6 separate regions of the Homo sapiens genome follow, and all the other regions are linked to region 1. Evidence: promoter capture Hi-C in human tissues and cell types (Jung and others, 2019). All regions are on one chromosome and are shown on one strand. Each heading gives the region's core, a stretch centred on a gene start or on the middle of the fragment in contact. The rest is flanking DNA. Distances are from core to core; before and after follow the strand shown.

Region 1 (3,983 bases), core at 675-3,174:
CCCACAGGAACTCCACTCCACAGCTCTATCCTACTGAAAAAGTACACTGGAAAATACAGTATGTTTTATGTACTCCCCATAGAACATAAATAGAAAAGACTTGTTCACCATTATTGCAGAGCCATTTGCAATTTCTGTGTCTTAAGCCAAAATACAAACCAAAATTAAAATGTTGTCTTTCCAATAAAGCGAATTTTCCTTTCTCAAAAAGCCTGCTATTTTATCCACTCTATTTAATTTTTTCAGGAACTAACAACAATACAGACCCAGGTATGTCATAAACAACAGCACAACCAAACACTTCTTTCTAGTTCTGAAACCTAATGATCATTTGGCTAGAAAGATAGAGAACCCCATCTATAGTCCTCTATCCCTTTTCCTGACTTGGGTTTACTAGACCTACTGTTGTGGCTTCTTTCTTTCTCCATCTCCTGGAAATGCCTTTTCCCTTCAGGGGCCTGGGATACGGATTTTGACTCACAATGAAGTCCACTCCCATTTCCTCCAGACCTGGCAACAGTAGGATCCTCACTGCTGAGGAGGAACTTCGGTGAAGGAAAGGGGAAACTTGACTCAGGAGTCTCAGCGCTTACTTTTTTTTTTTTTTTTTTTTTTTCCTTCCTGCTCCAAAAGAGAGCCTTAAAGCACTGATGAGAGGGTCCTGAATCGGTGTATGGAGTCAATTTCCCCGCCCCCTCGAGAAAGTCAATCACACCCAGTTAGTGACCTGGGCACACAAAATCTCCACATAGGAAAAAGACAGGGTTTGAAATAGGAAATAAACAAAAATCAGAATTCTATTCTTTCACTTCTTAAAAGTATCTTTTTCCTCCCGCAATTGCTTTCTCAAAATACCAAACTTGGACTTTGAAATCAAGTTCTTTTTCTATTGCTCTCCGCAGTTCTTACTGAAAGCAAGGATTTGTTTTGGTCCCACATGTTGAAAACTTCACGTCCCTATAATTAAGAGTTTATATGCCACGCCTTCCACCGCGTTTCCCTGTTAAAACTCCCTTCTCTAAAAAAGATCCCTGAAAACACAACTACCAGCTCGCCCCTCAAGCAGCCACAGGAAACAGATCTGAAGATTCTCAGCAGCCATCCTAACCTCTCCAGATATAAAGCTGGCAGCTGAAGGGATTTCTCGGTTAAAATGAGTGAATACTAGTTGCAGTTTTAGAAGTGTGCCCCCAAGAGACGAGTTTTCCCGCAAGCTCATAATTAATAAACACCCCAAGTGAATTTCTCACATCCTGACTGGATTACACAAAAGGATATTTTACATTGATATATAAGACTAACATTGATATTCTTTTAATATATAATAGGCCACAAGGAGACAAAAAAATACAAAACTTTTTTTTTCTTTTCAACGAGCATAATTTTTGAGTCGATGATCCATAATTTTTTGTGGCATTTTTAAATGCCTCAATACACACAGACAGAGAGACACACACGCCCCTCTGGTTGGGGTTCTCAGGTATTACCGGGAGCCTAGGGTGTGGGGGTCTAAGGATACAGACAAGACCTAAACGTCCAATCCTGGAGTATTCTTCACGTACAAGCTCGGTCCAAGCCCCAGGAGTTAAGCCCTACCCCTCCACCCCCACCACCCCCAAAAAGTGCCCGTTCCCATTGGGAAACAGGAGTGAGTTGCACAAGGAAATCGACCCGGGGAAGAGGAGGAGCAGCTGCAACAGCCAGCTGCAGCCACACAACGGTGCCACTTCCCTCCCGTCTGGGAGTGGAGCAAAACGCCCTTACCTGGGGGGTGGAGAGCCGCCGGCACTAGTTCCAAAAGTTCTGGTCCACCTCCTCTCGGAGTTCAAAGCCCCAGCACTCCGGCCCGGCCGCCAGCTCGCAGCACACGAGTCCTTCCCCGTCCTTTCCCCACCCTGCCTGCACTACACCATGTCAGGAATCCGGGCAGGCACCGAGCTGGGAGCTGACATCACTCCCAGTTCCAGGTACCTCCCCCTCCCACTGCCGCCCTTCTCTCCTCCCTCCCTGCAGGAATCAGCCAAAGAGAGTCAGCAGTGGGGCGGGGCCGGGGGCGCCTGCGCGCCCGCTGATTGGAGCCGGGGAACGTCACTCAGAGGAGTCCACTAATTTTATGCATTCCTCGCTGAGCCAGACTAGGGCTGGAAGTGGGTGGATGGAAGAAAATGCTGCCCTTCCTGCTATCTCTAAGGAACGGAGATAATCCGATGGGGAAGAACCTGGCGGGTCGAGTTTTAAACTTTTCTTGTTGTAGTTACTGAGATTCCAGATCAGAAACGAAACTAACCCACGCGAACCCCCTTTTTAAGGAGAAACAATTGCCTCGGTGTCACAGGCACACGGGCATGTACAAGCCCGGCGGCGCGTGGTGTAGAAAATGGCTAGCTTTAAGCCATGCAAATAAAGGAAAACGTCAGCTCACCCTTCTGCCCTTTTATCCTGGGACTGCTGGGTGTTCCCTTAGACGGGGAATGTAGAACTTCAAAAGCACTTCAGAAAGATTTGGAAGAGACTCCTGAAAACGGTGACCGAGCTTTGAATTGTTAAGTGGTGGTGTTGTCAGCCATGTGGCTGCTGTTGCTTTTAGCGATGAAAATCACACCACACAAGCTTCTCGGGCAAGTAAAATTGAATCTCTGAAGCAAGAAAAATGTATTTCCCCGTTTAAAGACCTTAAGGCTGCTGTTTCAATGCACACACTGAAAAGGGTGGAGGAAGGAGGGACCTCACAATTGAGTTCCACAAACCACATGAGAATAATTACTGTAGAATGGAACCAATTGTAGTGGCTGAGCTCTCAATTAAGAATTAACTAACGTTTATCCTTGACAGATATCATGCGGTATAATCCCCTTGGCTGACAGAAGAAAAAGATTCTCAGAAAATGGTTCTTTCAAGGCAGATGCTGCTTACAGGCAGACCTGAATGGTGAAAAGCAGCTTTATTTGTATGAGATATAGGTAGCATATAACCCACCATCTTCTAAAAATATAGTGAATTAATAACTTTCTCTTTTTTTTCTTCTTTTTTTAAACAGGTCACTCTGCCACCCAGGCTGGAGTGCAGTGGCATGATCTGGCTCACTGCAACCTCCTTCTCCTGGGTTCAAGTGATTCTACTGCCTCAGCCTCCGAGTAGCTGAGACTACAGGCGCCCACCACCACACCCGGCTGATTTTTGTATTTTCAGTAGAGACGGGGTTTCCGCCATATTGGCCAGACTGGTCTCGAAATCCTGACCTCAGGTGATCCACCCTCTTCGGCCTCCCAAACTGCTGGGATTACAGGCGTGAGCCACCACACCAGGCCTCATTGTTTTTTGATTGATGACATGCCATACATTTACCGATCTGCCAAAAATTGTAGAGGGATGCACAGAATCCAGCATTGTGTCTTGTTTAATCTTCTCAATCATCCTGTAAATTGAGTGTTACTAGCCCTATTTTAACGTAAGGAATCAAAGGCTCAGCAAAGTTATGTAAGTAAATTTCTCCAAATCAGCTAGAACTTGGATTGAAACCGAGGTCTATTTGACTCCAAAGCCATTGATTTTCTTTCTATATCTCAAGTATTGAGTGTCCATAATTTATACTTTTTCAAACAATAGAATGCTACAAGAAATCCACAGGCTTGGGCCACTGCTCTCACAGACCTACTTTATATAATTACCATCTTGTTGCTTGTCAGACCTGCAGTATTCCAAACTCCTGACTTGAATTTCTGACTCCAGTTTCCCCCAGTTCTAATTATTTCTCTGTACCACTCACTACCGATGAGTTTTCTAAAATGTTTGGTTTTGTCATCAACATCTTCCCCTCTAAATCAGGTCCCCCTTTCCCTGCAATTCTTATCTAGCCATTTAAAACTCTCTCTTATCCTGCTTCTTACCTTTCCCAGCTTATCTCCCACTTCGCTCCCAGGAAACCCTCTCTGTAGTCAAACAGGTCTACTCACAGATCCCTGCTTCGTTCTCACCTTTCAGCC
Region 2 (3,983 bases), core at 491-2,990, 120 kb after region 1:
GTTGAATGAACAACTAATTGCAGTATAATGCAAGATTATAACAGAAAAGTGAGCAAAGCACTGTGGGAATTTTGAGGGGGACATGGTGATACCTCTGGGAGTTTAAATGGGATATCTATTTCCCGTTGAATTTAGTCTCTTCTAAACCAAAGTTGGGATTCCTATAACCCAACCTGCAGAACTACTTTTAATTTCACCTTCAAATTTTCCCCTCTCCAGGACAGAAAAAGATAGTAATAGTCTTAATAATATGTCTTAGTAATAAGTCTTCCATCATCTAAAAGTAAGCTTACCTTCTGATGATTGAGAGCTACAAGGTAAAAATGATGCTTCTCCAGGCTCACTATGTCCCCTAGAATTAAAAACACCATAGGTGATTTACTTTCTAAGGTGAAGGAAACTGTTATAGCAACTACACTAAGATCTGTATATTTAATTTGTCAATTTGTGGCCCATTTATGTTTTATATACACATATTGTTAGTATCACCACCAGAAATCAAGGTCTTAATGTGCTAAGTATCATGGTGTTTGCCAAATGCCCCATTCCTCTATAAAGTATGTGTTCTCACAATAACAAACTCTCAGTTCCTGTACTAATAATAAGTAGGCAAAGACTACTGGGATGGGTGACAGGAAATACTGGAAGTATTAAACTTTTTTTTTTTTTATTATTTTTCTCTCAGTATTGTAGACAAGGAAATAACTGGTTCAAGGAAACCTTACAGCAATTTCAAAGAGAAACTTACAGAAAAAAAGTAAGACTTACAACGGGGCCATCCTAGCCTCCTATAAAATCAGGAAAACTTGACTCTTCCTTCAGGCTGACACAGCTACAGACCAGAGCTTGCTAAAGCAACACCTGGGCTGGATTTCTGTTCTCCCCCGTGCTGAGCATGCCTACACAGACATGGCGGCACCCCAGGCTTATAAGATGTGCAGGTAAAAATGACAGGGAGGACAAAACAATTTCTTACAATAATGCACAGTAGAAATCCACGTCTGCATTGTTTACTGAATGGCCATGGAGGGTAGGAAGAAAATGCTTGAATAAATGCCTTTACCCTCACATATTATATCAAGTAAGAAGGAATGTATTACAGAAATGAAAACTTTTAGCTTAATTCTGAGAACTAATGTCAATGAACAGTAAATGAATTACTCAAAAGATAAATCTCAAGTTACAATAAAAGGCCAGAGGATCACACAGTTTTAATGGTTTAGCAAGATGAGAGGAGAAAAGCAAAGAGACTCATTTGAAATCAATATAAAGGTCTTAACATAAAAAATTACTTACAAAACTAAAGTGTTGACAGATACAATATATTCCAGTTCTTTTGTCCAAGGATTTGTGAAACTAAACCATTGGCTTTTTAAAGTTACAAAAGAGCCATCTTTTGCTCTGAATTTGTAGGAATCTGTAAGTATTTTCTCCTTACTCTGTAGAACTTAACGAGAAAAGATAATTATCAGCATAATAGTCAATGACTATAAAAATCAATGTTGTGAAGATTAATTCAAACTTCAAATTTCACAGGAATGGGAAATTAAGAGTTAAAACTGTCATTTTAAATTCCCCAAAATGTATTCTGCTCAATGCATACCTACCTGCTTTGTGCTTGTCAGTCAAATTATTGTGGTCATCTTGATGAAAATATTCATAACAAGAAGTTCCCAAAAGTTCCTGAGGCAGATATCCTAAAATCGCTGTTGCCCTGGTTTCAAAATTGAAAATAAACTTCAGAAGTGGTGAGTGTACTCCCTCCCAGAAGACTGTAGGCCCACATATGGTCAGGATCGTAAAGAAGTGCACAGGGTAGGGGATGAGTGACCCATGCATATCACTGGGCTCCCCTCGGCTGCCCTAGACCCAGACTAGAGCTGCAACACAGAACAGGCACCCAGGCATGAAGCCTCCACCCGATCCAGGCTGTGCTCCTACTAGCTTTTGCCAGTAAAATCGTGGCCACAGATCATGCCCAGTTTCTGCACCACTGGCTAAGAGACACTCTTCCAAGTTTACATGTTGGCTTAAGCAAATTTACTGACATGTCCATATTCTTATTTCATTTAAACTTTATTTTCTGTTCTGAAACAGAAAAAAGAAAAAGAAAAACTAGCAGTGCTACTAAGACACGCCTTTAATAGCTTCAAATATCCCATTGAATTCTAATCATTATAACATGTAAATGTTTACCTTTGATCTACATAGACAAATTTTCCATTCACTGCAAACCGGGTTATAAATTCAGTTGGTTTCACATTAATCTCTCCACTGTTCTGTGGAACAATATATGGCTGTAATCTTCCAATGGCCACAAGGCAGGTAAAATTACTGTTGTCTTTCTTACTGTTCCTTTCTTCTTCCATTCCAACAATATTTGGAGGCCAGCTTCTCAAGTAACCAGTGCAATGGATAGTATAGAATTTTCTGTGCTCTAATTCAAAGATTTTTAAAAAGGACATTTGGATCATTATAAATAAGTCATTAAATTTCTTATATTGACATCTATAATAGTTATAATTGTGCTATAAAATGCTCTTTAAATATGCTAAAATATGAAAGGGGAATGGTATTCCATTGAAAAGATATCACCAATTTTGTTTATTTCATGACTTTATTATTAATAGATTATTTTTCTCAGGAACTAAATTGTATGTACTACATGAAAAAACGAACAGGTTGCTCTATTTTAGGATTAACTAGGTCTATGACTTAACATATTTCCAAGTCAATTTTTAAAATTATAGTAATTTACATCTATTAGAAAAAATTAATCCTCATGCCCCCTTGCAATATTGTTTTCACCTTATTAAGTTTTTTGGTATATCGTAACTTATATTCAAAACTTTAAAAAGACATTTAAATAATTATGCATACATTCTTAAATTTCTTATGTTAGTGCTTATAATGGTTAACAGATACATAAGGTTATAATAGATTATAGAAACATTTTAAAGAACACTTGGAGAAATTTATAGTGAAAAGTACAAAAATAAAATAAATTTCACTTTTTAGGAAAATCCCAAGCAATTAACTCATAGGAAGAAGCTTGTCAAGCATGTCCACCAAAATAATAAAAAATTGGAAATAATCTATATCCTCAAATATCATGCTTAAGCAAAAAATAAATCCAATACGGGCATAAACAATGAGTAGGCTACAGATTATGGCATGCCACAAAAGTGATTTAAAGGTTAAAAAGTAGGGGGAAAGCCTGATAAAAATTATTTGAAACAGCTGTTTTTATGATAAGATTTAGAAAAGATTAGAACAATCATTGTTTCAAATTGGCACTATTTGGTAAAAGTTCCATTACAATAAATCCTTTAAATTTTTGTTTAAATAGAACATGATATGAACTGTCATATAAGATAGTAGTTAACAATAATAGCAAAGATTTAGAGAATACTTTATGTGTCACAGTCTGTTTAAAGTGCTTTAAACGTATAACTCATTTAATCTTAACAGCTCTATGGGATGTTCTAGTATCTCCATTGTCCTAGGAAACTGAGTTAATGGCAAGGTCACACCAGGTACAGGATGGAGCTGGGGTTAAAACTCAGGCTGGCTCCAGAGCCCACTTTCTAAATCACTAATGCCACACCATTTGCTGATAGTGAGTGCTCTGTCACCAAAGATGTTCAAATAGGAGTTGCCTGGGTGACAGAAGGGGAGGGGCACAAAGGTGTTCCAGCCAGAGGGAATGACCAGTGAGAACTGAGAGAGAGCGGTCAGATGCGGCTGAAGCATATGCTGCAGTGGGAAAGGCTGGAAAATAAAGCAGGGAACAGAGGGCAGGTTGTAAGCCATGCATAAAACCTTGTATCCAACATTTCACAAACACCACTCCCTTCCCAGGCCACAGATGCCCTAAATTACAAAACTCCTTACCTCTTCCAACCCAAACCCAGTCTTTATCACTTATTCCCTACCCTGTTTACTGGTGCCACGATCAACCCAGGCAGTTCAAAGAGAAATCT
Region 3 (3,983 bases), core at 640-3,139, 100 kb before region 1:
ATTCAGGTTTTAATTCAAAAAACCTCTCCCTTTAAACCTCAACCACTATAGGTACTTATGCGTGCAACATTTTAGAGATTCTTAAATACAACCCTCCTTGTTTTCTGTTTCTCTGCTCTGTATCTGTCATCACATGTTTTTTTCCTCCCCAATCTATTAGCCCTTCTCACCACCAATCTGCTCTAACATCCCTAGAAAATTAATTCAGAATCACTTGGAAAGGGCAAAACAAGGGCAGGGGAGGTGGCGAAACCAGAAAAGGTAGGGGATGTTGGCAGCAGGGGCGATATCTAATGTTACAATACTTTTTTTAAAAAATGGGGTCTGGCTATATTGCCCAGGCTAGCCTCAAACTCCTGGGCTTAAGTGATCCTCCCACCTTAGCCCCTCCTGAGGAGGCTTCAAACTGTAAAATAAGGCCAGGCGCAGTGGCTCACCCTGTAATCCCAGCACTTTGGGAGGCCAAGGCGGGCAGATCACTTGAGGTCAGGAGTTCGAGACCAGCCTGGCCAACATGGGGAAACTCTATCTCTACTAAAAATACAAAAATTAGCTGGGCATAGTGGTATGTGCCTGTAGTCCCAGCTACTCGGGAGGCTAAGGCAGGAGAATCACTTGAACCTGGGAGGCTGAGATTGCAGTGGGCTGAGATTGGAGTGCCACTGCACTCCAACCTGGGCGACAGAGCAAGACTCTGTCTCCAAAAAAAAAAAAAAAAACTGTAAAAAACTGTAAAATAAGTATAGAATGGATGATATAACTGGAAATTTGAACAGTGTGTATTTGATATTAAGGACTTACTGTCATTCTAAGGTTATTAATAATGCTATTATACTTATCTTTTTTGAGTCCTTATTTTTTAGAGACAAGTTACAAAATACTCATGGATAAAATGATACAACATTTGGAATTTGCTTTAAAATAAAATAGAATAAAATAAGGGTAAAGATATTAATAAAACAAGATTAGCCATAAGTTGATAATTGTTGAAAATGGGTGGTGGTATGTAGGGGTACACTATACTATTCTATCCATCTATACAAATATTTTTTGAAACAGTCTCATTTTATCGCCCAGGCTGGAGTGCAGTGGCGCAAACATGGCTCACTGCAGCCTCAACCTCTCTGGGCTCAAGCAATCCCCCCATCTCAGCCTCCCTAGTAGCTGGGACTACCACACCTGGCTTATTTTTGTAGAGACAGGGTTTCGCCATGTTGCCCAGGCTGGTCTTGAACTCCTGGGCTCAAGCAATTTGCTCACCTCAGCCTCCAAAAGTACTGGGAGTAGAGGTGTGAGCCACTGCACCCAGTTGGGTATCCTATCTATATTTTTATATATTTGAAGCTTTCCATAATAAAACGTTTCAGTTTTTTCATCCATGTATTTAAACCACAAAATTTTCAACACCTTCAACCATGACATATTGTCTTAGATATTTTATTTCTCTATCATAACCTCAAGCATACTAAGGGCTCACCAAATATTTATAAACCAAATAATAAAACACTTGTTACTTTAACCACCCTCACAAATACAAACACACACATGCACACGCTATTCAGGAAATGGAACAGCCACTCACAGAGGATTGTAAGGCAGAGTACAAAAGAGGGCGTATTAATGACAATACATTAGTAAAAGTTACTTCTCTTGTTCACTAAAATGAAACGCCACAAAATACAAAGAGGCAAAGCTAGTAAGTAATCAAGTAAATGAAGCAGCAAGGGAAAATAGGATGAGGTAAAAGGAAATGAGCCTTCTGGCTCTCTGCTATTAATGCTTAGGAATAACCAGAAGAGAGTTGATGAAAAGTTTCATACAATAAGCCAAGATCTTTTACTTCTCGAATAAAGGATGCTGCTGCTATTGAAAAACTGATGTGTATTAAATGTCAGTAGATTTGAAGATCTTGTGATAAGTTGTGACAAGTTGAAAGAAAGCTGCAATTCTCCATATCTACTCTTACTAGCTATTGTTATGACTACACGGAGGAGTTAGGAATTTGTTCAAGGTCACTGAATAAGTGAGATTTGAGTCTAAAAGCCATATTGTTCCCACATATGCCTCTCACTCATTTGGTAGTTTCTAATCCAAACCATAAACTATGTACAGGACTGCCGGCCTCCCACCATACTGCAAAGACATGCCCTCCTTAGAAGACACTTCTGCCCTCTCACCTCTGTGCCATGACATGCACTGATCCCCCTACTGCTTGGACCCTCTTCTTTGTCCTGGGACACATGTTTTTCAAGGTGGGTCATGCATTCTTTCCTCCAAGGCCAGCCTGACCGCCACCTCCATGACAGCCCTGATTTTACAGTGATTGTCTCCTGGATGAAGCTGTGTGCTCCTTGAAAACAGACTGTATTTCTGCTATCTGCTCCGCATCTTCTAGTGTGGTGGACACCAAATGCTTGCTGTGTGCAGCTATGACTCAGTGGCTCCGCAAACACACACACACTCTGATGTCTTAAGTATCCTGGCTCCCATATGCCCTGTTTTGGCTGATAATATCACCTTCCTCTTAGCTGCATAAGCCAGAAAACTACATCTTGACCTTTACTTGTTTTTTTGTTTGTTTTGTTTTTTTTGAGACAAGGTCTTGGCTCTGTCACACAGGATGGAGTGCAGTGGCATGATCGCGGCTCACTGCAGCCTTGACCTTCTGGGCTCAAGTGATCCTCCCACCTCAGCCTCCCCACTAGCTGGGACCACAGGTGGGTGCGACCATACTCAGCTGATTTTTAAAATTTTTATTTTTAGTAGAGGCCAGGTCTCGCTATATAGCTCAGGCTGGTCTCACACTCCTGAGCTCAAGCAATCCTTTCCCCCTTGGCTTCCCAAAGTGCTGGGGTTACAGATGTGAGACACTGCACCGAGCCATGACCTTAAATTTTAAGATACATTTAGATAAATGCGATCATTATTATTAGCCTTGCTATCCACAATCTTAAAAACTGAAATTTCATGCTCTTTGAGATGTAGGCGAATCAAATTCATTGTACTATTTTGGAATGACATTATTCCTAAGAGTTTGCAAACTTAGTCCCCAGTATTATGGAGGAGTATCAGCGGGTCTGTTTCAACTTGTTATTGCTCTACCCACTCTAACTCTAACCTCATTCTTCCCTTCTTTTTAACTCTTTAAAACCTGGAGACTCATCTATCTCTATTTTCCTTCACAGGCCTACCAACCTAATGTATGCAGGCTACATGGACTGCTTCCTAGATATAAGCAGTTCTGGGATATGTATACCCATAGGAAGACAGGAGTGAGCAACAGCTACTCAAAGTTGTGAAGAAGAAAAGAATAATAAATTCCTATACATGAGCACCTTCTAAAGGAATGTTTTATAAACCATGGGTCACGACTCCTAAAATTAGAATGTACTGAAATAGAATTATTAGACTAAAATCAGTATTTCTTTTTATTAAATAGACAACAAAAGGCTATTTCATCAGGAGTAAAGGTTAAGCATTATCGTGTGAAAATTTTGATTTGATTATTCAGACACACACATACACACACACATACCTGCAACAAATATTGATTGAGGGCCTCCTATGCGCCAGGTATTAGACGCAGAACAGTGAAAAAGACCAAGAAAAGCGAAGCTCTGCCCTTAGGGGGCTGACATTCCAGTGGTTTCAGAGTATGTGCGTGTGTGTGTCTGCACAGGTGTCTACACATTCATGTGTTTTACAGCCTACGAATGCATACTTTATACTGGGTTAAAAACGTTTGAAAACCACTGGAGTGAAAACCACTGAAGTGGCATTGCTTAGAATATGGTCTGTGGACTGGAGCTGGTGCACAAACTGTTACCGGTCTACTGTAAGTACAGAAATTGAGAATAAATGTTTTAAAAATTACATCGCAACTTGGCCTTGCTGTGATATCCAATTATGTGATAATTCTGCTGGCAACTCAATTTTCTTTTTAAATTGAATTTTAGAAAATGAATCAATTCATGATGGAAAAA
Region 4 (3,983 bases), core at 475-2,974, 94 kb after region 1:
TGGTACAACATGGAAGAACATTGAGGCTATGATGCTAAGAGAAATCCAGTCACAAAAAGACAAATACTTCATGTATTTGTATTTAAAGTATTCGATCTTTAGAAACAAAGCAGAACAGTGGTTGCCAGTGGCTGAGGAGAAGAGGAAATGGTATGGAGTTTCAGTTTTGCAAGATGAAAACATTCTAGAGATCTGTTGCAAAACAACATGACTACAGTTAACCACTAAATGTGTGGTTCAGTAGTGTTAAGGTAGTAAATTGAGGCCAGGTGCAGTAGCTCATGCCTGTAATCCGAGCACTTTGGGAAGTCGGATCACTTGAGATCAAGAGTTCAAGACCAGCCTGGCCAACATGGCGAAAACCCATCTCTACTAAAAATTTAAAAAATTAGCCAGGCATGATGGTGCACACCTGTAATCCCAGCTACTAGGGAGGCTGAGGCAGGAGAATGGCTTGAACCCAGGAGGCGGAGGTTGCAGTAAGCTGAGATCGCACCACTGCACTCCAGTCTGGGGCAACAGAGCTGTCTTAAAAAAAAAAAAGATAGTAAATTTCATGTGTTTTTTCATAACTAAATATCTTTTGTAAAAGAAATTGCTGTGCTTTGAGTTCAGGGGGTTAGGGTCCCCGAGAGCACACAATAAATCAAAGGTTTATCAAAATCACAGTTGAGAGCATGCATCGAGCTGCTCGGGTCTGGATTCTAACTCCACTGCTTATGAGCGGTGGGGTAACCTTGTTAAGTTACTTAACTCTTAAGCCCCAGTTTGCTTGTGTGTAAAATGGGGGATAATACCAGCATTTATCTTCAGGATTCTTAGGAGGCTTACATTAATACGTGTAATAGGCTTAGGAACTGTGCCAGCCACGGTAAGTATTTAATAAAGGTTCGATTTTATTCTTATTCCCTCAAAATTTCAACAACGCAAGAGAATTCAGATTGTAGCATTGGGCAGATGGTTCCAAGAATAAACATGTTGGAATTAGATTTCTGTATATAACAAAAGTTTAAAGGAATGCTAACACAGCCAAACTGTTTCTGAAAGTTTGGTTCTAACACAGTGGAACCTCCTGGGTTCGAGCAATTCTCCTGCCTCATTGATGGGTAGTCTGATAAATTAAAAACTTTAAAAGGAAATGTTAAAGTCAGAAAAAGCCACTATTCCCTCTGTTTTCTTATATTTTATAAACAAAATATATAGAACTATATTTTATAGTTTGAACACTTTTCAGAAAATAAGAGAAGAAAAAGTGATATACTATCACATAATGGAAAGATCAGTATCAAACTCTACTGTGTTTATTAACTTAAACAGCTTGGTACTGGTGAAAGAACAGACAATCACATTAATTCAACTCCCTGCCCACCACCACCATTACTTCATTTCAAAACGAGTACCAGAATATACAAGAACTTAATCGATGGTAATGGCAACATTTCGAATCAGTGGGAAAAGAAAGGACTAGTCATTGAAGAGTTGTGGAGAAAGGGCATAATATTTTGGAAAGAAAAATAGACTCCTGTATCTTATTAGAGGCCAAAATAAACTTCAGCTAGATCAAAGACTTTAGTATAAACTACGAAACCACAGGACACCTAGAAGGAAACTGAGGTGTGTGTTTATTTGATCTTGGGGTGGAGAAGTTTTCCCTCCTAAGCATAACAACAAAGAAATTAGGCAAGAAATATCAACATATTTAACCACATAAAATTAACTCTGGAAAGAATGCTGAATGCAAACTGTTTTTTATGGCAATTGGGCAATTTTGATTTGGCAATTGCACTCCAAGAAATTCATTCTAAACAACAGGAGAGAGGTGTACAGCATGTGTGTGTCTAGAAGGGATGTTAGCTGTCATATTACCCACAATAGCAAAACTTTCCGACATCCTAAATGCTTCATAATAAAGAAATATTTAAATGAATTGTTGACTTCCTATTCTATACTCATTCTGGGCCATTCATGAAGTGACAATAAAAGTATACTTAGAAACATAACTATAAATATGATAATCAGCTAAAAAAAGGTATAAGTGGTTGCTCTGGAGAACAAGAATTAGGGCTAAGGTGGGGACTATTTTTTTTTTTTTGTAATTTTATGACTTCAAATGCTATCTGACTTTTAACCAATATACGCATTACTTTGTACAATTTTATTATTCTTTTTTGTATTAAACAGTAGGATTCTAACTTTAAAAAAGTCATTAGAATATAAAGGCCTTGAAAAAAGAGAAAGACTACTCAAGTGTTGACTATGGTTTTTCACTAGGTGGTAAAATTTTTTATTAGGTGATTTTTATTTTCTTCTTAGCACCTTTATATAATCCTGAATTTTCCAAAAATGAATGTAAAGTTCTTTTACAAACAGAAAAAAAATTTAAAAAGCAATCTGCTACTAATACGTTACTACAAAGAAATAGTGTCTTTTTACTCCATAAGTTTTAATTATTTTACATATAATCTATGTGTCCATTTTCTCCCTCAAGAATAGATATTTCAGACACTACAACTGTGTTTTGCTTGACCTTTGCTAAATCAAACTGAACATTCATGGGCTGCCAAATAATTTAATCATCAGCTAATTATGTGATATTCGTCTACATGTCCCTTCTGGTAGATGGGAAGCCTTTTGGGTGATTGCTCAGTCAACAAAGTATTGAATAAAATTTTCAAGGGCTCTAGTAAGTTTTAAGTTTATGTAATCTAGGCATCCCATTTTAGTGTAGTTTTGTAAAAAAAAAAAAAAAAAAGTACATTTATTTCATGTATTTACCCCCAAGGTAAAATGTAACAGGTTTCCTCCTGGACAGGAGTAAATGTGAGAAGCATTGCCTTAAAGTCAGCCAGGAGCCAGGAGTGTCTAAGAAACTGTCATTCCAAGGCCAGAGGCACACAGCTGGACAAGAATTTAAGACAATTCTTTACTGACTCCCTCAACACACAATGCCTTAAGCAATGGACAGAGTCCTCCACAGTGACTAGTGGCTGAGTATTTTAAAAAAAAAAAAAAGGTGGCCAAGATTAACATTAAAAAGGTGTGACACAGCTTTCTCTGCCTTGCCTCCCCTCCTCAACAAAAAACAACCAAAACAGCCAAACAAAAAGATTGAGGCTCACATACTCAAAGTGCCTTTGCAAAAATTATGACAGTGAGAAAAATCTGACATAGGAAAATTATGACAGTGATAGAAATCTGACCTAACCAGCTCCATCTTGCTTCTAACTTCCAAGGTGTCCTTGTTCATTCCTGGGTGTAGGTTGAATTAACTTTGGGAGGGATTTAGTTTATAGTTTAACTTTGAAACAAAGATGCTAACAGCCCCTCCCTGAAACAAAACCACTCCTTGCCTGGGGACCAGACTGCCTTTGTAAAACTAACAAATTATTTACAAGATCAGAAATTATGGCTCAGGAGTATTCCCAACCTCCCCAATTGCTCCTGTGGATAACATCACTATTGTAAAACCTAACATTGGTGTTCAGAGATGTTTCTGATGAACCAACTGGTGTCACCCACAAGGGTAATCCGGTTCAACTAGTTCTGCAATCCCATCCAGGAACAGAAGACAGCAAGAAAAACCAGCTTCAACCCCATATGATTTCATCCTTAACCCGACCAATCAGCATTCCCCATTCCCTACCCTTCTGCCTGCCGAAGTATCTTTAACAAACTCTCACCTTCAAACTCTGGGGATGGCTGATTTGAGTAACAATAAAACTCCAGTCTCCCATTTACTTGGCTCTGCGTTTATGAAACTCTTTATTGCAATTTCCCCATCTTGATAAATCGGTTCTATCTGGACAGCAGGCAAGAAGAGCCCGCTGTGTGGTTGCAGTACCTACACCAATTCTAGGGAGTCAACCATCATGAATTACAAGAGGTTCTCTTGTCCCTTCTGCACATCCCTTCCCCTCTCTGGCTCCAGGCTGTCTGGCTGTTGGCTATTTCTGACGTCTTTTCCCCTTCAAGGGTGCCTTTAA
Region 5 (3,983 bases), core at 572-3,071, 79 kb before region 1:
GCCTATACCATTTCCCTACCCCCAGGGGCTCCTGGCAACCACTGATCTAATTTCTACCTCTAAAGTTTTGCTCTTGGTAGGTTTTAAAAAATATTGCCCCCTTTTGTCTTATAGCTTCTAATTTTCCCATACTGTATTGTTTTTATAATTTTTTAAAGTTGTTTTCACATTACAAGATTTTTCAAAGCCTTGACTATAGTTTTCATTAACCAATGTCATTTTCGTTAACCACTTCCCAAGCTGGTAGGCCACCATAAATGCTTTCTGGGTAATCATATGGTTTGACTCTGTGTCCCCACCCAAATCTCATCTTGTAGCTCCCACAATTCCCATGTGTTGTGGGAGGGACCTGGTGGGAGATGACTGAATCATGGAGGGGGTCTTTCCCATGCTGTTCTTGTGATAGTGAATGGGTCTCATGAGATCTGATGGTTTTAAAAATGGGAGTTTCCCTGCACAAGCTCTCTCTTTGCTTCCCGCCATCCATGTAAGATGTGACTTGTTCCTCCTTGCCTTCTGTCAAGATTGTGAGGCCTCCCCAGCCACATGGAACTGTTAAGTCCCATTAAGCCTATTCCTTTTGTAAATTTCCCAGTCTCGGGTGTGTCTTTATCAGCAGTGTGAAAACAGACTAATATAGGTAAAGAGCTCTCTTCCTAGAGGAGATGTACACAAGTGGTTCCTAATTGAATGGAGACCATTGTGTGCACACACAACAGCGTCTATTCACAGATGCTCTGGGAGATCCATGCGAGAGGCAGGGAGCCTCCCATAGCTTAATTTTATTTAGCTTCAGGGAAGTGCAGAGAAAGCTTTATTTATGCTAAGAATAGGATGGACAGAAATATAAAGCACTAAATCAGCAAAATCATTTACAGGCAGGAGGTTTTGGCCCACAGGCAGGTCTACTAATGGGAACTCTGTGATGACTGATGAGAATAGCCAAAGAGATGCCAAGAGACATCCAACCCTCATCTCACCCCACCCTGCAATCCAGGCTCACCTGTTGCGGTTCTGCTCATCCTCAATTCTCTAATTAAATTAAAGTTAATTATTAATTATAACAGGCATTCACATTTACTGCTATTTACATTCATTCTTCACTCACTCAGATACTATATATCATCTTTCTGATTTTCCATAATATAATAAAAACACTGTAGGCTACCTCCTATCTCCATTTTCTCCAACTGGGTTAGTCTGGAGCTGGACGCCAGTCAGTCTGCCTCTGAACCCTTGGGGTTCCACTTAGAGAATCAACCTTGAGCATTTCCACCTCTTACTTCCACCCCATCCCCACTTTTCTTTATAGTCCCCTAGAGAACTAGAACAAAGGTCTTCACATTTTGATCACTTGACTTCTAGTCCTTTAAGGATAAGTAGTAAAATGCCAACTCTGCTCTTTGATCTGTACTTTCTTGTTTCCTCTGATGTAAGTAACAGTACCCAGGGAGTCTATGTCTCTCCTCCTTCCCCACAAACATATTTTGTGCAAAATTCTTCCCACCAAGGGGGTTGTCTACCCAATTTAGAATGGTGCCAAAAGAAGAACAACTGTTGGCTCTGAACATCCAGATTAGATGACACTCATTTCACCAAACCTCTGCTTAGCCCAAAAGGATCCCTTCTGGGCATTTCCACCCCAACTAGAGATGCACTAGAAATGGTCTCCAGTGTGGCTCTCATGCAATTGAAACATTGCGAAAGGATGCTAACTCTGGTGGTTCCCTAACCATGATGGCCAGAATCCAGGAGGGGTTTGTTGGTCAGGCACCATGTTGGCAGATGCTGACACTTCCTAGAATGAATTCGATCCACCTTGCCCTGGTGGAGGCTCCAATCCAGTGGGGGAGATAGTCAGATAATCACATAAATCCAAGTATAATTATTGTGTGCACACATGATTTTGATATGGAATCAGGGTTGGAAAGTAGTCTATGTCTGACATTTTAGAATAAAATACAAACATTTTTCCCAGAAGGGTATTGCCAAGGAAAGTGAGAGGAAGGAGTTTGTCTCCTCAATTATGCAATAAAAATAAACCATTTACAGAACATCCCACATATATAATCATTTCAAAAACTCTGCAAAGACAACATTATCATCTCTATTTTATAGATGCAGCAAAGCCAGGTTAAAAATGAACCTGCTGCAGCTAGAAGTGGCAGGATGCAGCACCTGGAACCTGATAGGCACTCAACTGGTATGCACACAGTTGCTGAATTAATAACGATTTGAAAAATACAGAAAATATTCCAACAGAGAGCGAGGAGAGGACTGTAGGTTGCCTGTATTTGGTGTTGCATGAAGCACCATCAGGCTTGGCCCAAAGTATGTAGGAGCCTTGACATTATAAAATACAATAAGAAAGGCTGTATGTTTGGCAGCTATACGAACAATTTGAATTTCTTTAGCAACTGGTTCCATCATGCAATAGCCTGGCCACAGCATATTGGAGAATTCAATAGAGACAAAAATGAGATTAATACCTGCAATTTCTACTGGAAAGGGTTGTTGCAAAAACTAAATGAGGCTATCTATACACAGGCAGTCATATTGTCTGCAATTTTTCAAAACATTACAACATGGGTATTTTTGTGATACAAGGGTAGTAATTATTTTTAACCTATACCCTGGGGTAGTTAGCATTTGAATGACTAATCAAAAGCTCATGTAAACAGAAAACCAAGTCAACCATGTTTATCTCTGATGAATACCAGAGGGTTGTTACTTAGAATAATGAATGCTGCAAATGATTTTTCAGTGTTCATAATGGGCTCTAAGTATTGTAGACTTCCCCACTCTTGCATAACCTGAAAATAAGAGTCTATCTAGCTCAGTTGTCTACGTCTTTCAAAGGGTGCCCTCAGACCTTGAAGTTCTGGGGATCTGATGTACAGCATGGTGACTACAGTTAATATTCTTTTATATACTTGAAATCTGCTACAATATAGATTTCACACACACACACAGTGAGGTGATAGATGTGTTAATATGTGTTAATAAACTTGATTGTGGTAATCATTTCACAATGTATGCATACATGAAATCATCACACTGTACACCTTAAATATATACAATTTTTATCTGTCAATTATGCCTCAATAAAGCTGGGTAGGGAGGGGGAAATGGTGTCCTCAGCTGAAGACTCTCTTCAGTCCTGTTTCTAGATGCTTTGGAGGAAATTTAGTCACCTCATGCTGTCAAGAAAGTTAGCCCAATCCTGACGCTAGAATATTGTCCCATCTGCTTCTAATGAAACTTTTTGCTCAATGTTCTCCAGATCCAACCAAAGGACAGAGCACAGGGACTGTCTAGAGCAGCTCTGTCCAACAGGACTTTCTAAGATGACATAAATATTTTGTTCACCTGACTAATAAGGTAGCCACTAGTTCAGGTGGTCACTAACCACTTGAAATGTGGCTAATGTGACTGAAGAATCAATTTTTGTTTAATTCCATTTAAATTTTAGTAGCCACATGTGGCTACTGGCCATCCTGTTGCACAGCAGTTTGGGAGCTTACAGAACAAGGTTGTGTGATGTTTTTGTGCCTGCTGGCCATGAAATGTTTATATGTGTGGCAGAATTCAGTCTGTAAGTTGTGTTCATGGCCGTGCTAGATGGTAAAGTTGTGGGAGAGGGAACCTGTAGTTCCCCTCTATTAGCACTGTGGACTATGTCAACTCATGATGCATAAACAACTCAGCTGAGGTCAGTTCTCAAAAGAGGCAGCATGGCTGCAGGGAGTCCTGGACTCTGGAGGCGAATCTAGGTCCTCTGAATTGCACAACTTAATATTAGAATGAAAACACATAACTCAGAGACTGTCATAAAATTAAATTATCAACCATGGGAAAGCATCAAGCAGAGTGTGTAGCCTTTGGCAGCGGTATGATGCAGTTTAACCTTGTGTACACCAAAACACTCTATTTTCACCACCTGCCCCCCACTTTAATTAAGTGCATGAGCCTTGATAAGGTTG
Region 6 (3,983 bases), core at 618-3,117, 75 kb after region 1:
CATTTGATAAAAATGTGACTAGAGAGGGGACCAGCAGGGGGGAGGTTGGGGGAAAGAGAAGAGACAGAAATGGATGACCGTTATAACCCCAATGGGGAGTGCTATCCAGCCCAGGGTCCCCCTCTCCCCACAATGTCAGGCTGAGCCTCCAAAAGATAATGTTAGAAAAAAAAATGTGACTAGAGGCTTGAAAGAGCCTAACCCTGTACTTCCCCTGGGAGCAACAGTTTTGCATTTGCTAATTCAGTGTTCACAGAGACTCTACAGAACAGAACTACCAGGTATAATGAGAATTAACTGTAATCTGAAATTTTGGACAGAGAACAAATAGTAAATAATAACTATCTGTAGTAGTAAAATAAATGACAGATATATTTGTATCTTTCTATTATTTACATGAGAAAAGATGAATGAGAGCCTCGGCTTGGCAATTTGTAAAGTTTATCAAAATCTAGAATTCTTTGGAATAAATCAGTGTCTCCTAAAGCTTCTAAAATTTCTCTTTCACTCCTCCCAAGAAATTATTTAGGGCAGCAACTCTTTCCCTGTGAGGATAGCCTCGTTCATGGACATAACTTTGCAGTACTCACTGTATGAAGCCAATCATACAAAAAGACCAAGAAAACACCACCTAAAAAGATTTAGCCCATTTTACCTTAATATAGAATTGTTATTTAATTTTATGAGACAGGCAAATATTCTTGAAAGTCAATTTCTAAATAGCTATAAGAATACTTAGAAAAAATCTAGGAACAGTCCTTCACCAGTGAGCATTCTTTTCAACATCTATTCTCTGTTCCTGGTTTAGATAAAGATTGGCAGCACTGCTCCCTCTGTGAGCACTTTGGGTTGTGATCCTCCTCGTGCTGATTTACCAGTCCTGAAGTATGGCTTCCCAGGAGCCGCTGAGGGTAAAATCAATGTTAACTTACACTCATCTTCAGCACACTGTTTGCACTGAAGGAATGGTCCTAGCCTTACTAGTGTTGGATTTTAACAAACTAGGTGAGAAGAAGCCTCAGCTAGTTGATAAAATTCATTTGTAATGAGGACACAGAGGTCCAGTGGAAACTGGGCATCAGAAGAAACAGGCGAGGTCACATGGTGCTTGTCAGGCAGCCCAGCCTAGTTGGTGGGGGGTGGGGGCAGGGAGGGAGGAGGGCCAGAGAAATAGGGTGCCTGCCTCCTTCCCAAGGTAGGGATTGCAAGGCCTGAATCAAGAAAGGAAGGTCAACAGCCTTGAGGAGAATATGTTTTGGTGACCAGGTGTGACCCTCAGAACAGGACAGGCAGCCAGAGGCTCCACAGACCTCTACCCTGAGAGGAGCAGAGCTGAGCTGGGAAGAACTCTGTGTTCCTGAATGTGGCCCACAGAATCCATTCCGCACAGCATTTGATAAGATTGACTTAAGAGGAGACAATTATGATTGGAGTAGGGGTCATGAGCTAAAACTGGCCGATGAATGGATGGAGGTGAGAACGAATGAAGGGAGGCAGCAAAGGCAGGGCTGCCTGCTCGAGTCTTTCAACAGTCCTACAGGAAGGGCTTAGCTAGAGATTCGGACCCACGTAGCCAGGCATTAAAGCCCAAGAAATGGGCTCAGCCCCTCCTTTTGGTTCTCTAATGGGGGAAAACTGGCCTTGTAAGAGCCTGTCATTGTATTATAGGACAATGGAAATACCCAGCCAGAGAAATAGAAGTCCAATGTACCAAGAGGGGAGTGGGACATAATTGGTGTTATCAGTGCATCACTCAATGGATTTGTATTGGATATTTTAACTTTTCCCCCCTTCAAGGGACCAGATGAGAACTAAATCTGTATAAATCCTTGGGTGTGACCTTTAACTCAATCCAAGGCACAATAGGTTTTCAACCACATTTTCTCTGTGCAGAAAAAGTTTCCAAGAAGGAAATGGAGGAGAAGCCTCATTACTCCCTTCTGTCAGTCTCTTACTGTGATCCCTCCATAAGCAGTTTCCTGTGTTTCTCACAATTAATTTTAATAATTTCATTTTTGCAGAGAATTCTGTATAATTGAGAAAGTATGTCAACTTGTTCCTATAATTTTTTCAGAAGTATGCAGCAGGTGACAGATTTTGTCCCTTACAAAGATAAACATAACGAAAGTATGAAATGTTTGTTCATCCAAATGTTGTTTATGCAAAGATCAGAGCAAGTATTTCGTTTGGGTGTGGCAGTTCAAAGAAACACCTTGATGACCTTTGCGGCTTATCTAATAACGCTAGCATTATGTTTTTTTTGTGATCACGGAAGCGGGTGCAGGGGTGGCATGATTTATAATTCAACAGTCTTGGTTTAGCCAGTCTAGAACACTTAGGAGCATATAATCAGGTCAAGTTTTCAGACCCACACAAAGCCTGCAGGGTGGCTGAGACCTAGGCTGGCCTTAGTCCTCAACTTTTTGAGCCAACATACACTTGAGTCTGCAGTGGATGGACAGTTTCCCACCGCTTGCCTTCTCTTTCTCCTCTTTCAAAGTCCTTCTGTCTTTTACCCCTTTGATTCTGGTTTGACAATTCCATTCTTCTCTCATTATTTGGTCAACTGGTAGACTATGTGTGGGAGCGGGAGATTGAGGGGTTTAGAGAATCATGTGGTTGGAGAATGAGGGTAGAGGATGTTAGAGTGACCTCCGAGTGAATTATCAATAAGACCATAAGACCTTTCTCAATGCAAATGTTAACCTCCAGCTAGTACATATTAAGCTGATTATTCTGCTTAAAGGTCATTTGTTTACTGCCTCACCTTGAACCACATTATAAAAGGTTCCCTTGTTTACTTTTGTTTAGAACTGGAGAGAGGATTTTAAAAATTTAATCCCAAGGGTCCCAGAGCCTGGCTTAAGGAGCTTAAGGGTCTGCTGGCCCCAGTTTAAGTTTTGTTCTTCTGACACAATGCCGAGAAAAGCATTGATTCCAGTTCAATTCTCAGGTTTGTTTATTTGGTTTTGCTTTTATGCAGTTGGGGGAAAATAGAAAGAAAAATGGCATTAAGTTCAAGTGTGGCCACCCTTTCTATTTCAACAAGTAGTATTCTACTAAACTCAGTAAAGACTTGCCGCTTGGGAGAACTAAGGCGGAGGGCACTCTTCTTTATCGTGCAATTCTGACCTGGCAGACATAGCATTCTGGGTTTACATCTATTATGTCACTAATCCTGACAACACCTCTGTAGGGTACTTGATAATATTCTCAATTTAACAATGAGTAACAACTTCTGGGAGGAGGGTGACTTGTTCAAGGTCCTACAGCTAGTAAGTGGTAAATCAAGAACTTAAGTCCAAAATTTTCTAACCGGAAAGCTAATACTTTCTCTACTTGTTTCTAAAAACATGTATTTAATTGATAACTATTTTTGAGCATCTGCTATGTGTCAGGTACTGTGCTGGAGTGGAGAATGCAAGCATGCGTAAAGATACAGTTCCTGTCCCTGCGGAGCTTGCAGGCCACTTGGCTCTGGTCAGGTGCAATGTGTTAAGTGCTAGGGAAGGTTGCGGTGGCAGCACATAGGAGAGGCACTCGGCTGAGTTTCTGGGGCTCAGACGCGTAAGTCCAGAGAAAGTACATCTACAGAAGCCCGAAAACAGTTTCTCAAATTTTACTGTAAATGTGAATCATTCTAGGATCTTGTTAAAATGTAGGTTCTGATTCAGGAGGTCTGGAGTGAGGCCTAAAGTTCTGCTTTTTTTTTTTTTTTTTGAGACAGAGTCTTGCTCTGTCTCCCAGCCTGCGATCACCACTCACTGCAGCCTTGACCTCCTCCCACCTTAGCCTCCCGAGTAGTTGGGACTACAGATGCGGATCACCATGCCCAGCTAAGTTTTTGTATTTTTTATAGAGACAAGGTTTTGCTGTGTTGCCAGGCTGGTCTCAGGCTCCTGGGCTGAAGCGATCCTCCCACCTTGGCCTCCCAAGGTGCTGGGATTACAGGTGTGAGCCACCGCACCTGGCCGATTCTGCCT

The links. Contacts are between HindIII fragments. The study calls those that stand out against the background at their distance.
Region 2: a fragment that was not itself captured here is called in contact with the fragment with the promoter of PPFIBP1 in region 1 in 2 of the 25 tissues and cell types used here (liver and thymus).
Region 3: a contact is called between a fragment that was not itself captured here and the fragment with the promoter of PPFIBP1 in region 1, in 3 of the 25 tissues and cell types used here (adrenal gland, mesenchymal stem cells and ovary).
Region 4: a contact is called between a fragment that was not itself captured here and the fragment with the promoter of PPFIBP1 in region 1, in 3 of the 25 tissues and cell types used here (H1 embryonic stem cells, aorta and hippocampus).
Region 5: a contact is called between a fragment that was not itself captured here and the fragment with the promoter of PPFIBP1 in region 1, in 2 of the 25 tissues and cell types used here (adrenal gland and hippocampus).
Region 6: a fragment that was not itself captured here is called in contact with the fragment with the promoter of PPFIBP1 in region 1 in 11 of the 25 tissues and cell types used here (IMR-90 fibroblasts, aorta, bladder and 8 more).

The regions. Positions count from the first base shown.
Region 1 is chr12:27,522,147-27,526,129 of GRCh38, reverse strand. PPFIBP1 (PPFIB scaffold protein 1) reads right to left here and starts at 1,924. Exons shown (of 30, transcript NM_003622.4): 1 at 1,765-1,924. RefSeq lists enhancers at 1,302-1,902, 2,149-2,608, 2,506-3,107. The HindIII fragment of the contact is 12,160 bases long and covers 1-3,983 here.
Region 2 is chr12:27,398,988-27,402,970 of GRCh38, reverse strand. BMAL2 (basic helix-loop-helix ARNT like 2) reads right to left here. Exons shown (of 17, transcript NM_020183.6): 10 at 2,197-2,437; 11 at 1,608-1,714; 12 at 1,297-1,447; 13 at 294-352. All of the region lies in intron 1 of BMAL2-AS1 (BMAL2 antisense RNA 1), which reads left to right. Among named protein-coding and RNA genes, the nearest start is that of BMAL2-AS1, 46 kb to the left of the region's middle. The HindIII fragment of the contact is 4,832 bases long and covers 1-3,983 here.
Region 3 is chr12:27,622,317-27,626,299 of GRCh38, reverse strand. All of the region lies in intron 2 of PPFIBP1 (PPFIB scaffold protein 1), which reads right to left. Among named protein-coding and RNA genes, the nearest start is that of REP15, 72 kb to the left of the region's middle. The HindIII fragment of the contact is 5,434 bases long and covers 1-3,983 here.
Region 4 is chr12:27,427,588-27,431,570 of GRCh38, reverse strand. The region is part of intron 1 of BMAL2-AS1 (BMAL2 antisense RNA 1); the gene reads left to right. It also overlaps a transcript of SMCO2 not described here. Among named protein-coding and RNA genes, the nearest start is that of BMAL2-AS1, 17 kb to the left of the region's middle. The HindIII fragment of the contact is 6,575 bases long and covers 1-3,983 here.
Region 5 is chr12:27,601,405-27,605,387 of GRCh38, reverse strand. All of the region lies in intron 2 of PPFIBP1 (PPFIB scaffold protein 1), which reads right to left. Among named protein-coding and RNA genes, the nearest start is that of PPFIBP1, 79 kb to the right of the region's middle. The HindIII fragment of the contact is 3,618 bases long and covers 13-3,630 here.
Region 6 is chr12:27,447,466-27,451,448 of GRCh38, reverse strand. All of the region lies in intron 1 of SMCO2 (single-pass membrane protein with coiled-coil domains 2), which reads right to left. Among named protein-coding and RNA genes, the nearest start is that of SMCO2, 2.7 kb to the right of the region's middle. The HindIII fragment of the contact is 8,253 bases long and covers 1-3,983 here.